Linked DNA regions of Homo sapiens: region 1 is linked to region 2. The links are contacts of gene promoters, found by promoter capture Hi-C in human tissues and cell types (Jung and others, 2019). All regions are on one chromosome and are shown on one strand. Each heading gives the region's core, a stretch centred on a gene start or on the middle of the fragment in contact. The rest is flanking DNA. Distances are from core to core; before and after follow the strand shown.

The links. Contacts are between HindIII fragments. The study calls those that stand out against the background at their distance.
Region 1: a contact is called between a fragment that was not itself captured here and the fragment with the promoter of TRPM8 in region 2, in 2 of the 25 tissues and cell types used here (bladder and liver).

What each region holds. Positions count from the first base shown.
Region 1 is chr2:234,369,210-234,375,860 of GRCh38, forward strand. No RefSeq gene overlaps it. Among named protein-coding and RNA genes, the nearest start is that of LINC01891, 82 kb to the right of the region's middle. The HindIII fragment of the contact is 5,750 bases long and covers 261-6,010 here.
Region 2 is chr2:233,913,674-233,919,499 of GRCh38, forward strand. It overlaps TRPM8 (transient receptor potential cation channel subfamily M member 8), which reads left to right and starts at 3,700. Exons shown (of 26, transcript NM_024080.5): 1 at 3,700-3,759. The HindIII fragment of the contact is 3,092 bases long and covers 1,349-4,440 here.

The DNA of each region.
Region 1 (6,651 bases), core at 1,886-4,385, 450 kb after region 2:
TGGATGCATGAGAAGGCTGCAGTGCTTTTAAGGGAACTGGAAGTTTCATTCATTGACTTGACAACCAACAAGTAACCAGAGAGAATAAACCAACCAACCAACAACAACAAATAGGATTACTTGCAACAAGGAAAGCAACTTAGACAACCCCAAATTTAAGAAAACAGAGGAAGAAAGGCGCCCACTCCCTCGTCATCTTGGCTATCATTATTTTTTAATTTTGCTCCAATCCCTTTTCATGTAAAATCTAAGAATCGCTGTTACGTAAACTTTGGTATCCAGCTTTTTCTTTTTTTAAAATTAACATCAATAGATTTTCTTCATCATAGTTGCTTTTTGTGGCTGAATAATTTTTCACATACCAAAAGGATTGTACGCATGTTCCATAATTTACTTAGCCAACTCTCTTACTGCTGAACACTTAGGTGATTTTTACTTTATATTTCTGCCATGATAAACAATACTATTATGAACACATTTATATTTTCAAATTTGTACATAATATGAGCTTGTGATTATTTGATTTTTTGGGTTTTTTTAGGCATTAAAGCTAGAATCACAATAGTAGGGGTAGAGAATGATACTACGTATTTACAAAAAACCTAAGAAAAATGATGCTGATTTTCTTGTATCTTCTGGAATCTGTAGAAAAGGCCACCCCTTTAAGAGCTTATGACCTGCTACCTGCAGCTGACAATGGGTGTGCTATGAGAATGAAAGTTGGATGAACGTGTTGTAAGAAGAAAACACATCTTCCCCTTCTACCCACCTTAGGTTCATTGGCTGGGTCCCCTGTAACCAAATGCAGATTAATAAGAGCAAAGTCAGCCGGGCGTGGTGGCTCATGCCTGTAATCCCTGCACTTTGGGAGGCCAAGGCAGGCGGATCACCTGAGGTCAGGAGTTTGAGACCAGCCTGGCCAACATGGTGAAACCCCGTATCTACTAAAAATACAAAAATGAGCTGGGCATGGTGACTTGTGCCTGTAGTCTCAGCTACTTGGAAAGCTTGAACCCAGGAGGTGGAGTTTGCAGTGAGCCAAGATCGTGCCACTGCATTCCAGGCTAGGTGTCACAGTGAGACTCTGTCTCAAAAAAAAAGCCAACAAATTTATTTAATAAGTTTTACATGACACAGAGCCCTCAAATGACATGAAGACCAGAAGAAACAGTTAAACCTGTGTGTTTTTATGCTGTTTGATAAAAGATGAGAAAGCCATGGAAGGATGTGGTAGGTTAAAGGGGATGAGTAAACTGAGGGAAATTTAGCAAGTCCTGTGTGTTCAATTCCTCTCCGTGCCCCTGTGTCTTCAGAAGAGGGGCACCTCTCACATGAGGGTCTTGTGGCCTGCTTCAGGGGAAGGTCAGAGTGCAGGGGAAGGTCAGAGTGCAGGGGAAGGTCAGAGCGCTCTTCTTGCACTTGCCACACCTCAATATATTTTTTTTTTAAGAGACAGGGTTTCACTCTGTTGCCCAGGCTGGAGTGCAGTGGTGCAATCATGGCTCACTGCAGCCTCGAACTCCTGGGCTCAAGTGATCCTCCTGCCTCAGCCTCCCAAGCAGCTGGGACCACAGGTGCATGCCACTATACCCGGGTCATTTTTTTTTTTAACTTTTGGTTGAGACGAGGTTTTGCTATGTTGCCCAGTCTGGTCTCAAATTCCTGGCCTCAAGGGACCCTCCCACCTCTGCCTCCCAAAGTGCTGGGATTATAGGCGTGAGCCATCTCACCAGGCCTATAGTTCTTTGGCTTAAAATACTCAATGTGCTAACATGCTGTACTTTGAGGTAGTGTGCCTTGAATCCCATCAGTGTCCTTCTTATCTCTCATATGCAGGCTTATTTGTAGAATAAATGGATCCTCCCAAGAAGGGTTCATGGAGAAAATTCCCCCTTGGGTGTCAATATCTGAAAAACATGGCCCTGAAGTGCATATTGTGTTTTATTTTACAAACATTATGAATCCTGTAAACTAGTGGTGTGGATGTCTTGGCTTCAGCTAGCAGAGAGCTGGTGCATTTGTGGCTCACTTCTAGCTAATATTTAGGATCATTTGTTATACATTTTTCTGCTAATCATACCTTTAATTTATTTCCAGTATGCTGCTGCTATTTAAAATTATGTTAAAAAGGAATTCTTGGTAATGTAAAAAAAAAAAAAAAAAAAACCTCAGAACACAGTAGTGTATGCTCTATACAAAATGACATTTTTTAAAAAGACAGAAAAGGGCCAGGTGCAGTGTGTCTCACGCCTATAATCCTAGCACCTTGGGAGGCCGAGGTGGGTGAATCACCTGAGGTCAGGAGTTCAAGATCAGCCTGGCCAACAAGGTGAAACCCTGTCTCTACTAAAAATACAAAAATTAGCCAGGCGTGGTGGTGGGTGCCTATAATTCCAGCTACTTGGGAGGCTGAGGCAGGAGAATTGCTTGAACCCTGGCGGCAGAGATTGCAGTGAGCCAAGATCATGCCACTGCACTCTAGCCTGGGCGACAGAGCAAAACTGTGCCTAAAAAAGAAAAAAAGACAGAAAAGAAATACATCTGGAATTAGAAGTGAGTACTGGGGAGCAGGGGGGATTATGGATTATATTTTTCAAGCTAGCTTTTGTGAAGTTTTTAAAACATGAACATGCATTACTTTTATAAGGCTAATGGGAAAAACCATTAGCTTTGGAAACCAAAAAAAAAAAAAAAGAAAGCAAGTGAAGATCCCTCTGTGCACATGGGGCCGGCACCATTTACCTGTAATGGCATCAGGAACATTAGGAAATTGGAAACGGGAGCATCAGCACTTGCACAATTTAATAATTTGCTGATCACTGCCATGCATTAGACTTTAACTATTTTGTCTACAAAGCATGAGCATGCCTTTATGTAGTTAATGCAGCCACATTAAACATTTATATGATGTCTATTTTCCCAGGGCTTGTTTGTTTTCACTTTTTCATATCGGGAGCTGATGCAGCTGCTCTCTGTCTTCTCAGGTGAGGCTCCTGCAGGTGGAGAGGCAAGAAAGCCTCCTCTGTGGCATGCCCGAAGCTGCAGAGAGCTTCTAGGCAGAAAAGTTTGCCTTTTTTTTTTTTTTTTTCCCTCTTTCTCTCCCCTCTGCCCTCCCAGGGCATTTCCTGGGTGTCACGCTCGTGTTTCATTTTGATTGATGCTAATGGCATTTTCAAACTGCAATTTCCCAGGCTTACTTAAAAACCATACTTGGAGATTGTGATAGCAATGTTTCCAATTAACACAACACTCTTCACCCAAGTTTTCAATACTTGGTTAATTCATGGAAAATGAACTCAAAGGATTTAAGAAACTATTTCTCTCCCAAAACAGTTGTGCATTGGAAACACGATCAAGTTCTGAATCTCTAAGCATATCCTGCATGAAAATTAGCTCCATGAAATTAAGCTTCCTTTTTTATTTTTTTGAGACAGGATCTCACTCTGTCACCCAGGTTGGAGTGCAGTGGTGCAATCATGACTCACTGTAGCCTCAAACTCCTGGCCTCAAGCAGTCCTCTTGCCTCAGCCTCCCAAAATGCTAGAATTACAGGCATGAGCCACCACACTCGGCCATAATCCCTTTCTTATGCCTCCTTCTTAGGGTTGCCAGATAAAATATAGGGCATCCAGTTAAATTTAAATTTCAAGTAAACAACAAATAATTTTTTTTTAGTATAATTGTGTCCCAAATACTGTATCATTTTTCTCCCCTAAATGATGAACCTTCCCCTCTGGTTAGAACTGGCCATGTCCAGAAAGGAAAATTTGATCAGTGCCTTATTGCCATAGTGGTGTAGTTGAGATCGGATTTGGCAGTTTAGACAAAATGGCTCATTTGATGCTTTTCTTCAAGGACAAGGTGATTTTTACTCTGTCAAAAACAAATTAAAAAAAAAAAAGTTGGCCTTTGCCAATTCGATCTTTAAACTTGTTGCCATTTTGTTTTTGATTCATGAGTCATGATGTACCCAGCTATGAAACAGAAAAGGTGCTTTGCCCCGTGGGCAGAAGAGTTGGTTTTTGTAAGGCAGCTTGAGCAGGAACAAGGAAATAGCATAAGACAAACCAGAGGTGGGGTGGCATCAGGTCACCTCAGGCTGCCTTCCTCACAAGGATTGAAGCAGAGGGACTTTCTTACCACATAGCTTACAACTGGATCTCCCTTCTGATTTCTCAAATGTCAGATAAACAACGTCGTTTCAGTTTGGTGACATGGAATTTAAGTATGAGTGACTCCATTTTGGAACAACTCTGTGGGGCTGCTTGGAAGCCCCCGGAGAGAAGCCTGAGCTGCATCTCACCGTGTGTTTCATCCATGGCGTGCTCCCAGCTCTAGCGTGCGTGGAGAGAGGTCATGGAGTGTGGTTGCTTTACTTTCTACAAAAGTTCCGAAAGCAGGAGCCCACTGGGTGAGCTGGGGAAGGAACAGAATGGGAGGGGGAGAGAGGAGGAAGTCACTGCAGCTCGTGATCTCACCCCTAAACCTTCTGTTAGTCAAGTTCCTAGCCCCACAAAACGCTTGGTGTGAGTAGATACCTTATGTAACTGGTGAGGTGCCTGGGCTTTTTTATCATTGTGTCTAAGGGATGGAACAGAGGCAGCTCACACAGACTCAGAAGCATTTAGGACAGAAGAGACCACGAGGAGGAGCCCCCTGGGAACTTGCAGGAATGGTGGAAGACTGACAACGTCCCCCTGACATCTAGGTTACAGTTTTAGAGTAGACGGAGCTGTGCATTTGGCAACTAACTGCCTCTATTCAATTCTTGTATCTACTACTACTAGCTGTGTGATCTTACGCAAATAACTTAACCTCTCTGATCCTCAGATTTCACATCTTTAAAAACAGAATATTAACACCTACATCCAGGGTCTCCTTGAGACTTAAATGAGGCATGGAGGTGATGCACCCGGTAGGTAGTAGGAGTCTCCAATAAGTTAGTTGTCTTTTTCTCTTAATTCCACTATTTCTAGGAGGTGAATACACTAGAAAAAAGTTTGTACAGCTGAATAACTAATCATACACAAACAATGTGGTGAACAATTCTTTTCCTACAACTTTCAGGTTACAGAGGAGGGGCGGGGAAAGATGACGTCACAAGAGCAGGGTTAGTTGCACCAGCAAATGAGGCAGGTTTCCGTACCCCTGCAACCCCCGCCTTGCTGCACACGTGCACACACATACACACACGCACACGCTCAAGAATGGGTCCTCCATCCTCCAATGCCAACTTTTATTATAGTTCAGTCATTTGAAATTACTCGTACCAAGTCTTTTCTCCATTTTTGTGCATAATTGAATAATCCAGCTACTTAACAAAGGCCTTCGTGTATCTTTATTCTTCCTCAAACCCTTCAAAAAAATGTATAACTTTTGCCAAAACTTATCCAGAAGTACCAATGTGCTTGCGATTAGGACTTCTTTCCAGTTGAGCTCACTGCCATATCTAAATCTGTGTTAGCTACAGACTCCACACAGAGAGACCCATGAACGAAAACTCAATCTACACCATGGGCATCAGGGCTGCTTTCAAGGGTTTGATTCAACGACAGTCTTAATCGGAGTGCACAACAGCTGGTGTAAATCCAAGCCTTCGCCTTGGCAAGAGAGGAGCTGCTTTCAGAGCAGGCCTGATGGGTGAGGCTGGAGAGGCAGGCTGCCTTTCTGATAGAGCTCATCAGGGACTTCCCATGAGAGCCGCCCGCAGTGCCTCAATGCTGAGATAGAAAAGATGAGTTTAGTGAGAGCTCAGAGTGGTTGTACATAAGCAAAACTGTGATCTCCCAAGAGAAGGGCAGAGATGGCCATGCAGATGGCTGCAGGCACATGCAGATGCCTGTGGCTTTGTCCTCTCCCCTGGAAATGCAGAAGAGAATGGTTCCCTTGTCCTCTGCTCTCTCTCAACCATCCTGCAGGAACTTATAAGAAACACCTTTGTCATCGCCTAAAGGGAGTGAGGAGTGAACTGTAAATCTCAGGTCTGGTGTAACGAGATGATTTTTGCAGTAGGATAGAACATTTTATCAATCCTAAGAGCAACATTCCAGTCTTTTTTCAGATAGGACCACTCCGCTAGCATAGATTTAACCCAGAAATTAGGAACGCAGAGGACTGATTGTATCCCCAGTGGCTCTAGCCAGAAACAATTATCCACTTGGCTCATTAAAACAAGTAACAAATGGCTAATTGTCTCCACAATTTGCCAAGTGCTGGTTCAGTTACTTGTGCCTGTGAACTCAGGAATATGAAGAGAGGCTGGCAAGAATAGAAGAGGAACTAAAATTCTGCCATACATAGATGGGTCCATCATTTTATTTTTTATTCTCTTCCTTAGTGTGGGGAGAGTGGAGCAGGGGGTACAAAAAGAGAAGGATTGAACAGGATGACCCTATGTTACTTTCTGTGTTTCAAGTACTATGATTCATGGTGAAACAAAATGAATAGAATCATACCAGATCTGTGATCAGTTTCAGCAGAATATACATCATCATGAAGTCCCCAGGAGAGGTGAACAAGGAAGGAATGCTCTCCTCACGTTTCTGGAAGTTCCCTGAGGCCCTGCCCAGCTTCTCTTTGGTGATAGGTGAGACCCAGGTGCAGCAGCCCAGCCGTGCTGGGGGGGACTCGGCCTGAGCAGAAGGCAGCAAG
Region 2 (5,826 bases), core at 2,450-4,949:
TGTAGCCAAGGATCTGCCTTCCTTTTGACTGTCAGTGTATAGGTCACAGAATATTAAAGAGAACAGAGATGGTGAACTGAAGGCTGTAGTCTGAGAGCAAGGTAATTTTTGAAGACAGCCAGGAAAAGGGTTGGAGCTGCAGTTATGGGACTAAAACAAACAAACAGTGAGGGAGGCCTGGGCCACTGAGAGGCCTAGAGGGTGTTGTGGCATGGGAGGGAGTAGCTCAGAGGCTGGATACAAGGGCTGTGCACATGTACTGGAGAACTCAAGGGCTTTGTGTGGATGAGGTGCCACAAGCCTCCTCCTGGGCCATGGCTATGCTTTGGGACCTGCCTGTGTTGCTCATGAAAGCAATGTTCTAGCACTGTGTGCAGGCTTCCTCAGCCAGTCCACTGTGGTGGAGCAGATGCCCTATACTTACTGCCCTCAGAGCTTTCTTAGCATTCGATATGCCAGGAGCTGGCGTGGTCAGCCCATGGTGTTAGGCTGAATACACTCACTGGGAAGGACCAGGGTCTTGGCAACAGATTCATTGCATATTTGCGCCTCTGGTGCCATGGTAACCTTTCTTCTTCCTGATGACCTACACCTATATTAAAGTTTATAAAACAGTGGCTGGATGGTTGGAGGATGCAGGTGGACAGAAGACGTGGAGCCTGCAGAAGTAAAGGGTAAGTTGTTAATTCTCCTGGAAAAGGTGAGATCTTGTGTCTCTTACCAGGAGAGGCCAAGAGACAGGGTTATGGGTAGCACCCACTGCACCCTTTGCACAATGGGAGGAAGGATGTATGACTTGATGTGCCTCCCAGTTGTGTGTTCATCAGCTGCAATCTGCTCTTCTCAGGAGTTAGTGTCAGGGAGTGTCTGTGCCTCCTGTACAAGGCTTATTGTAAAAGACACCTGATGTCCTTGAGTGACCAGAGTTCTAACTTGGGAGTATGTGCCCACCTCCATCAGTTGCTACCAGTGTGTCAAATTCTCTTCTACACTTGGCTAGGGCTAAGATTTAGTGAGAGGAGCAGAATGAGCCCTGCCGGTCCTCCTTTTTCTAGTAGTAGGAAGCAGCCTCTTCTTTGCAGTGTGAGCCAGTGGCCCCTGGACCCTCAACTAGTACCTGAGGCTTCTCTCCTCATCAAGGCCTCAGGGGGAGGCCTGAGCTCCTGCCAAGAAGGTAAGATCAGGACCCAACCAGAACTCCAGCTTCCTGCATACAGTCAAGAGAGGGAGGCAGGCTCATGGGTGGCTGCGGTGCAGCCTCCACAGGACTCTTCATGGGGGAAGACTCTTCATGGAATGCCTGGGGTGGGAGGCCTTCCACACTGACCAGAGAGCCTTGTCCCTTCCACCAGCTCCAGTACAGCAAACTCAGCCAGAGAGTGCAGTGCAGAGTCAGTGGCATCAATGCATTCACATTGCTCTGTAACCATCATCATCATCCACCTACAGTTTGTTCAGTTTTAATGTTTTCTCATGGCACAAAAAATAGGGAAGCCAAGCTGAGAGTCTGAGTCTGCATATCTAGCTGGAAGTATGCAGAATGGCTCTGCTTATCTTAGTGGGGGAGGAAGGTGTTCAGGGACAAGCAGGGACAGTGCTGTTAATTCACCTTTGAAACCTGCTTTGAGGAGTAAGTGGCTGAAAAACGTCTGTGTGTGACTGAGGTTGCTCAGGGCAGCCACCTTCTGGCATTAAAAGATAGTTCAACAATCCAGCATCTTAAAAAAAAAACCAAAACAATTTCTATCTATCTTGCTAGATGAATTGGGCATTTTGTTGCGTCTTGGATGAAATGGTAAATATTTACATTATATATGTACACCTCTACTTATATCTCTCTATCTCCATCTCTCTCGCTCCCATTTCATGAGGATGCTTACTTACAGCAAGGATCCATTCACGTATGATTTTAAGGACTTGCTAAAGATATTTGAATACAACTTGTTCAGGCCAGATCATACATTATCTGCTGTGGATAAAACAAGTTTGGATTTACAATGAAAATTGAGATAGAACAAAAGACTTGCTTAATAACCAGAAAATGAATGAGAGAAGTCCACATGAGCTTAATTAATTGGCTCAATATTTCTCTCTCTCTCTCTCTCTCTCTCTCTCTCTCTCTCTCTCTTTTCTTGAGACAGAATCTCACTCTGTCACCCAGGTTGGAGTGCAGTGGCATGATCTCGGCTCACTGCAACCTCCACCTCCCAGGTTCAAGGGATTCTCATGTCTCAGCCTCCTGAGTAGCTGGGATTACAGGCACGTGCCACCACACCTGGCTAATTTTTGTATTTTTAGTAGAGACAGGGTTTTGCCATGTTGCCCAGGCTGGTCTTGAACCCCTGACATCAAGCAATCGGCCCGCCTCAGCCTCCCAAAGTGCTGGGATTACAGGCATGAGCCACTGCACCCAGCTGGCTCAATATTTCTAACAGCTAAAAAGCTCATTTTGCTGCTCCGCTCCTCAGATGGACTTGCTCCCCTGTGCAGTGCTATATATGTGCTTGGGGACCATGCTGGGTATGGGAGTTTTTAGTCCTAGGACCCATATTTAGAGTAATTCTGAGATTTCTCTGATTCTCTCTCTCTATTTCTAGCTGGATCTCTTCTCTCACGGGTCCTCATTCAAATCTATCATTTCCAGTTTTCCACAGCCCCCACCCTTCCCTACTTACTACCTAACACTTGGCTGCTCCCTTCATCTTTATGACCTGTCTGAGCCTTGGAATATTTGAGTTTGAGACCTCTGTCTGGAGTCTTTTGTCTCTCTTTGTTAAGGGGGTTTTCTTCTTGAATTGAACATGCTTTCTGCAGGAGTTATCACTACAACCCTATCCTTCCTTTCAGACCTTGCTCAAATCTCTCTGCCTTTGCAAAAAACCCCTTCACACTCCTTCTCTTTCATCTCTAACCTTTTTGCAAGTGTATGTCTTGTGCAATCAGTTCCTGAAATACACTATCCTATTTGTATTTCTCTATGACATATGCTTCATATGAAAATAAAATAGAAATAATGGCCAAAACAGAGGAACATTAGTTATAATATAACTGTTATGTTTGTGGCACGTGATTTAAGTAAAATGACCGAAAGTTGCCCACTGACAATTGTTACTTATTTCTTCGAGGAGAGCTCTTCCAAAGTGTAGTTTAAAGGGGACAGGAAATAGCTGTAAATTAATGAAGCTGGATTTGCTCACCTCCATGATGCCCTCTTGCCTGGCCCAATACTGCATTTAGTTGGTATGAGGAAAGTTCACAAAATCTGCAAAAAAGCAATGTTGGTTAAATTTCCTCTATTTAATAATTTTTTTCCTAATCTTAATTAAGAGCTTTTAATTTATTAATTAATCTTGTCATCACTTTCTATAATGAGCATTTCCCATTTTATTTGTGGTTTTTAAAATGTGCCATTAATTGCAGAAATTAAGTATTAGTATGATTTCATACTATGGTGTTATTGTCAAGCTAAGAGCAGGAATTTGGTATCATTTCTTTATTAGCATTTAAAATACCATGTTCACTAATTATCCATTCCCTACTCGTATTCCACTGCTAAATTGCTGCTATGCTTGGAGGCTTTAGGAGTCTTCTTGCAATTTCAGCGGCTTAAGTTTTTTGTTCCTCTGCTTAAAAGAACCTCAGAGAAGAAGGCGGGGCTAAGAAGATTCCAGTTATAAAAGCTTTCCTCCTCCTGTGGGGAGAGACCAGCAGGATCCTTGGGTGAAAGAAAATCCTGCTTGACAAAAACCGTCACTTAGGGTATGTCATCAACTTTTGCTTTTTGCTTCTCCTTAAATGTTGCCATTGCTGTAACTTGTAGAATAGTACGAGTTTGTGTCTCTGGGAGGGGCATCATTTAGTTTTTCTATGAAGATTTGAAACTAAAGGAAGACAAAAATTTAAATTCCTCAAAGTGTTGTGGGCATAAGCAAATGCGGGTTCACAGATATATCTAATCCTCACTTAGATTTATTTAGAAATGTAGAATTATTTGCTGAATTTTTGAATGACTTTAAATATAATTACAGTTTTCTGTTTCTGATTGAAGGAGTTAGAAACTCCCTAAATGAGCTTTAATGAAAAATTCACTGGCATCTGAACTCTGCAACTGACTATCTGAAGCAATCCTATTGGGAACATAATAAAACAAGTTTTTTCTTGAATCAAGACTATGGTGAAATGTAAATTAACATCAAGAAATAATGCATTCAAATAGTAAATATTCTTTGATAATGAAAGGAGCGGGTATATTTAGCTTGTTTTTACATACTGTGTTTCCTTCCGTTCTTCCAGCCTGTTGAAACAGGCTCATCATTTGTATTATTTATAAGCAAGAGAGAAACACTGAAGGGCTGGATGAATAATTAAAGGTTTTATTTCCATTTAATTTTCAATCCATTATTGCCAGTGCTGACTTTTTCAGTGTTAGGATTCTTGAGCTGAACATAAGGAAATGGTTATTCCTTAAGACTATTCTATATGTGCTAATACAAAGATACTGATCATGAGAGAAGTTTTAGCTTGTCAAAATCTTGACAGTGCAAAGGACTTACTTCCAAGGTTGTGACTTTGGATGCATATTTATTTATAATTTGGAAAAAAGCTGTTTATTATTATTTATTAATAAGATATTTATAATTATATTACAAATAATATAATTGTTATAGAAATAATATAATTACATTATAAATTATAATTACATTACAATTTATAATAATAATTATCACTATCTTTGTTTTGCCTAAGAACTGATATCATTCTTGGCACCTGTGAAGACAGTAGGGGTCCAGGCTGCATAGGGACCCCTGCTTTTCCTCTTATTCTAAGAGGGTCTCAGCAAATAGCATCTTGGAGCATCACCTGCTGCCTGTATCTACCTCCTGTTTCTCACTTCTACTTTTTGGAGCAGGATACCTTGGGGTCAATGACTTCGGGAGCCTCCACTGGCTTTTGCTATTTTCCTAGTTTTCATCCATCTATTCAAACTGAAAAAAATTTGGCTGATAGAGGCAATTAGAAAAACAGGATAATGCCTACAACAAAATAAATCTCAGCTCTCTCCTGGTGGTGACTGAGACATGGAGGCACAGATGCCTAGTGACCTTTTCAGGTATTGTAACCCTTGTATGCACCCCTGCCATGCCCCTGCCAAAATAAGAGTGGAGGAGATCTCTCTGGATGGTGTCATTTATATTTGAAGCTTCTGCAAGTGTTATACTCACCATTTTCATGAATAATTGATGGCTCAAAGAGTGGAGATGGCTGGGGTTTGGTGTGGGGCCCTTTGGAGCATTTTCCTTAGAGTATGAACAAGTTTTTCCTCTCTCATTCAGTGTGCAAAGGAAAACATCTTGTTTCTCCCCCCACCCCATTTTTTTTTTAATCAGAAAGAGACTTAGAACTAGACAATCCTGATTGAAAATGACACTTTAGGACTGATTTGACCATGGTGATAGGTGAGCTAAAAAGCAACTTATAAAACATGCCAGAAGCCTTTTTTTATTAGGATAATAAGAGCACACTAATATTTTTTTTGTATTGAGTTCAAAGGATGCATGAATATTCTGTTGTTCATGAGTGACTTCTAGACTATTTAAAATTATTCATGACCATTGATAATAAAAATAGTACCACGGCCAACCTCTCCCCTCAGCAAACAACATGAGGTTTGTAACCCTTTGTTTAAATTTTGGCAGTGTACTAATGTTGTTAAGATGACAATCTATTTCTTCTCAAAGCTGTATTAAAGTGGCACAAATTAGCTTAATGTTTAAGATTGGGTCTCAGGCCAGCCTGCTTGATTTTGAATTCTGCATCCTCTACTTA